Linked DNA regions of Homo sapiens: region 2 is linked to region 1. Evidence: promoter capture Hi-C in 16 types of primary human blood cells and fetal thymus (Javierre and others, 2016). All regions are on one chromosome and are shown on one strand. Each heading gives the region's core, a stretch centred on a gene start or on the middle of the fragment in contact. The rest is flanking DNA. Distances are from core to core; before and after follow the strand shown.

Evidence for each region. The method cuts DNA at HindIII sites, captures the fragments that hold promoters and counts their contacts. A CHiCAGO score of 5 or more calls a contact.
Region 2: a contact is called between a fragment that was not itself captured here and the fragment with the promoter of DUSP10 in region 1, in 1 of 17 cell types (total CD8 T cells). The highest score is 6.6, in total CD8 T cells.

The regions. Positions count from the first base shown.
Region 1 is chr1:221,740,802-221,743,608 of GRCh38, forward strand. It overlaps DUSP10 (dual specificity phosphatase 10), which reads right to left and starts at 1,288. Exons shown (of 4, transcript NM_007207.6): 1 at 1,180-1,288. RefSeq lists silencers at 275-324, 2,045-2,524 and enhancers at 358-995, 996-1,633, 1,105-1,294, 1,625-1,824, 1,634-2,271. The HindIII fragment of the contact is 7,400 bases long and covers 1-2,807 here.
Region 2 is chr1:221,581,623-221,584,392 of GRCh38, forward strand. No RefSeq gene overlaps it. Among named protein-coding and RNA genes, the nearest start is that of DUSP10, 160 kb to the right of the region's middle. The HindIII fragment of the contact is 1,074 bases long and covers 752-1,825 here.

The DNA of each region.
Region 1 (2,807 bases), core at 38-2,537:
TTGCCCACCGGATCTATCTCTGATTTCAGAGTGTCTGCAAAAAGACAGCTCCTTCCTCCTGTAGGCACAGGGGCACTCTACAACTCAGGCTTGCTAACTCTTCTTCTTCTATTAGACATGCACATAGCAAAGACGCCAAACCCCACGCCAAGAGACGCTCACCTAAACGAACTTTAAGAGCTATCAGGAAAAATGCCATCTATCATCCGTCTACACACGACCGTCACCATTCTCATCCGTCTACACACGACCGTCACCATTCTCTGACACAGAACCAAAGTGTCACAGGCGGAATCCACACTCACGCGCGCACACGGGGCACGCACCCATCACGTCGGCAGATCTCCAACGACTCGGGTTTCTCTCACCCACCTTTGGATGGGAGCGAAGGAGTCAACCCCCCTTCCCTTGCGTAGTATTTTTTCTGAAGAGCGAGTTCTATTCCAGAAGCTATAACTGTTTCCCGGTTGGACCAAGCGGTGAAAGTCTTTGCTATTGTGTTACCTGGTAGGACACGTCCAGGATCAACATACCATTTCTTCTGAGAGGGACGCATAAGCGTGTTCACAGAGACACGCGCTGGGACCCCCACCTCCACACAGAGTTCAAGGCTCACACACACACACACGGAGTGTATAGAGAGACCTGCATCCCTGCAGCAGAGGGTCGGGCGTACATACTGCCCGTGAAACCATCCAGTCTGGCCCAGAAAATCTCCCAGAGAAATACTGAGCTATCCCCTCTCCCTTCCACCACTAGGCAAGAGCTGGAGAGAAAATTAAGTGGTTAGAGAATGCTTCTTCCCCATTCCTGGAGCACTTAACATCCCCCCGCCCCCCGCTTCACTCCTCGGCACACAGCGCACTAATGAGCCCCGAGCATTTAAAACTGCCGCAAAGCATCCCAACAAACCTCATTTTTTCTTCGCCCCAAATCCAAGTAGACTGCAGGGAGTAAACGCACAGGGTAGCAGGAGCCAACGGCCGGAACCTTATAACCCTACCTGCTGTAGCTCCTCCGTCAGCATCGCATCTCTATCTTTCTGTCTCTGTCTCTCTCTCACACACACACAGATACACACACACAAACACACACACTCACACTCACACAAGCACCGCCTTACAATCCTCCACCTCCAGTCCCGGGCTCTCAGGAGTAGTCGCGGTGACTTCCACTTACTTCATAAATAAGTGTATTCCTCCACCATCTGGCGCTCCTCTTCAGCTATGGACTCGCACATTCAGCCCCCATTCACTCGGCTTCATTGATCTCCAGCAGCAACATAGTTACTTTCTCTTTTGCTACACTGTAAATGTAAGGTTCTGAGGGGGCGGACTCGCCGCCGACCGACGGCGGGTTGGGCCAATAAGAATCCGGAGAAAGCCGACCGCTACCTCACAGAGCCCCGCGACCAATGGGCAGCCTAGGGGGCGGGTAAGAAGGCGTGGCCTCATCTCTTTAAGGAGGGTTTATCCGAAGCTGCTCTGGGTCCTCGGTGTTAAAACACGGGCGGTGATGTCATTGGCAACCAATCAAAAACTTAAAAGAGCCAGCCGGGGCCGCGCGGAGCAGCTGCTCTCTATTTACATGTAAACCGAACCGGCAGGATGCAGTTAACCCTTTACCAGGCTGAAGTGTCAGCGGGCTGGACGCGCTGCTCCGCTAAAACTGGCTCTTCCCACTGGACGGGATCCTCCAACACTCCCTCACCCGGGGACAAACCACGCTATTTTTCCTCCTTACTATGGACAGATGATCAAAAGTATCGGAGTAACTTTCTAAAGGAAAGAGACTGCGATCACCGTCCCTAGTGGGAAAGCCGGGTTCTCTCCGAGTCGCTCGAGGTGACTTGACAAACGCTAAGCCAAAATTCGCGGACCTCGCCGGGTCTTCTGCGCTAGGACCAGCATGAGCGCGCAGCCAGGGGCGACGCTTCCGCTCCGAGCCGCGGCCCGGGGCCACGCGCTAAGGGCCCGAACTTGGCAGCTGACCGTCCCGGACAGGGAGGCCCTTCAGCCTCGACGCGGCCTGCGTCCTCCGGAGGGCCCTGCTCCGCCCGGGAAGCGTCCGCCTCCCGCCCGCCCGCCCGCAGATGTCGCTGCCCCTCTGGCTGTCCCGGCCTGACCGCCGCGCGCCGCCCTGCTGCTCACCTACTTCCGCGCCACGGTCACGCCCCTGCCGTCCCCAGGCTAACCCTCCCGGGGCTCGACCCAGAGCACTAAGGCGGCGCCACTGAGGGCTGCTCGGAGGAGGAGGCTTGAGTCGACGCCAGAGGCGGCAAGGGACGCGCCCTGAGCAGCGGTGCAGAGGCCAATCCCCTGGCCGGGCGTCCTGGGGCCCGCTACGCGCCCGCTGCCCCTCCGGGTCTGGGTCCCCGCCCGCCGCCGCCCCCCTTTCCCGCCTGGCGCGCTGGGTCCCCGCGCCGTGCCAGCAGCGCGCAACCCACCCGCCCCACATGCCTCGGCCGCCACCCCTCGGTCCCGCACGGCCCCTGCCGAGGCCAGGACCGGCAGCCCGGCGCTTCTGGAACAGCCGCAGCTGGCGGAAAAGAGCCAGAGCCGAGTGCAAATAGCTAGATTGAATGGGGCCGGAGGAGCGTGGAGGAGGTGACGCCGCCTCTCCCCGCTCCCCTGACTTTGGCCGGCGCCAGGTAGCTGGCCGCAGCTCCTGATCAGGGAGAAGAGTAGGGGGCGGGGCAAGCCGCCCCTTGCCTAGTCCGGAAAATATTCTCATTAGGGAAACTGCAGGAAAGTTGCCCTGGGATACAAAAAGAAGTGGAGATGAACAACCCCAGATGAACTGTGGAG
Region 2 (2,770 bases), core at 39-2,538, 160 kb before region 1:
CCCTTCCCCATCATGTGGGCGGAAATTAGTTCTCAGGCCCTGCTGCCTAGCTTAGTTTCTTCTCTGCCTCAGATTCAACATCTGTAAAATGAGAATTACATTGTTAGGAGGGGTTAGGAGTATTAAATGTAAAATGTGTAGAACAGGACAGGACCCTGATACTGTTTCCTCATCCCTGTCCCCCATTCTGGATTTAAGGGTGCCCAGAAAATGATTTGCTTTCTTCCAAAGAGCTTTTAAAAATAAGTTCCTGTGACTTCTTCAAGTGTGTTAAAAAAAAAGAAAAAGAAAAAGAATATTGGATGACACTCAGTAGCCAGTGTTCCTGTCACTGTTATCTGCTTATGAAGAGGAAATATGCCAAAGTGCCGGCCCACCTGCCTTCCTCTTTTACCCCACTTCCACCCTACCTACTGTTAACATACCCCAGGCCACAGTCTCTTATTCACAAGTCAGAGTACAAAAATCTGAAAGCCAAAAGTATTTTATTCAAATTTGGTGGCAAGATCTAACACTAGGCTTTTCATAATCTTTATTTTTCACGCTTAATATGTATACAATTTACTGCTGATTGATATATTAATGGTTGATTATGGGGAGCTGTCCTAGATTCTAAGGGGATGGGATTTCATATGCAAATGTGAACAAAGAAAGTTAGTTAGGGCTTCTAAATTGTTAAAAAAACAATTTGTGGCATTATTCTACATAAGCATTTCTAATACTATAGGTTTTATTTTGTAACTCAACTTTAAGCTTTCTTTAACTAAAACTCATCTCTGAAAGTTTGTTGTATGCTTTCCGGTCCTTAATAGTTGCCAAAGCAAAGGGTTTGCAGTCTCTTTTAAATGTATGACAGCAATCCATAGTAAGAAGTACGGTTTTCTTTATTGGGATCAAGTCCACCCATTTGACTCTGTATGTGAAATAAAAGTTTAATGAATGAATATTCCTTTGTGCAAAGTGCTCTGAGGTTTCCTAATTTATTTTAACAAAGACAGCTAGCCCCATACTATAAAAATGATTATGGAACCTGCATTTTGAAAAATATTGTTGTTTTTGTAATTGCTAAATCTGGTTTTCATTATATCAAAATTTTTCTTTTTTTAACTTTTTCAGGTTCTGGGGTACATGTGAAGGTTTGTGACATAGGTAAAGATGTGTCATGAGGGTTTCTTGTACAGACTATTTTATCACCCAGGTATTATTCTATGTGTAAGTTTGAAATTTTTCATTATAAAAAGTTAAAAAGAACAAGAAAAGAGTCAAGCCACAGACCAAGAGAAAATATTTTCTGATTACCTGCCTGATAAAGGACTTGTGCTGCAAGGTTTGTAAAGAAATATCAAGACTCTATAACAAGAAAATTAGCAATCAAATAAGAGAAAAGATTTGAACCACACTTCATTAGACAAAATATACAGATGGAAAATAAACACACAAAAAGTTGCTCAACATGAATAGACATTGGGGAAATGCAAATTAAAATCACAATGAGAAATTGCTTCACACCTATTATATTGTCCAAAATTGGTGAGAATGTGGAGGAACTGGATCTCTCTTACACTGCTTGTAGGTATGTAAATGGCTACAATGAGTTTGGAAAACAGTTTGCTTATTAAAAAGTTAAACATACATCAGATGTATGATACAACTATTCCACTCTTAGATATTTACCTAAGTTAAATATCCATATCCATGTAATACTTGTACCAAAGTTTCATAATAGCTTTATTTGAAATACAGAAGTGGAAAAACCCAAATGAGGGTGATTGATGTTTGTTATCTTGATTATGATGTTGGTTTCACAGCTGTATTCATTTGTAAAAGCTTATTAGACTGTGTACTTTACATTTCAGTTTATTATATGTCAATTACAGCTCAACAAAATTATTAAACAATTATTCCTGTGACACATTCATAGGATTAGTAACTTTTGGTAACTTCTGAATTAGACCTCTCTGGACTGTCATGACCTCATTGGCTATCCTCTGAGCTATTATTCAACTCAAATTATGTCAAGAACTATGCATGGCATTAAAGAAAAGTATGATAAATACATGCAAAGTTGATAGAGGAATACAGGAAAGGAATGCTTTGGCCAAACTTGGCAGGTCAGTAACATCTTCCTAGTATGGAAAACTCTAAACTGAGAGCTAATGGAGTCAGTCAGACAACTATTGGCGAGATTAGAGAGGCGTTTACATGCAAAGGGAACAATGTGTATAAATGATCAGTGGCAAAAGAGAGAATGGGACCTGGGGGAATACAGTGATTCAACATGACTGAGAGAATGAGTGTCAGGGAGTGCGGGCAGGTAAAAGAGGTCAGATCATGAAAGACCCCATGCCATCCTAAGGAGTTTCTGTCTGCCACCAAGAGTAATAGACTGCACAGAAGGGTTTTTATTAGGGATAAAGTGTGTGAGATGTTGTAGAAAAAAAAAACAACAACAACACTCTTCAGTGACTAGGATTGAAGGCAAGACTAGATGTAGGAAGTGCAGCTAGGAGAGTTAAACAATGAATCATCAAATTAAAGGGTGATAGGAGCCTGAACCGAGATAGTGAATGTGGGATTTGAAATATGGATAATTTGAGAGTTATTTCTTGGTTTCTGTTGTGAGAATACAAGAGGAGAGTAGTTGAATGGATAGGTTCAGTTCTGAACACTTTGAGATGCCTGCAGAACTCCAAGAAGATGTGTGACACAGGGAAGCTGCTTCAAAAGTATCTATGACTTTTTTCCTCAAACAGAGTCTGATACAAATAAA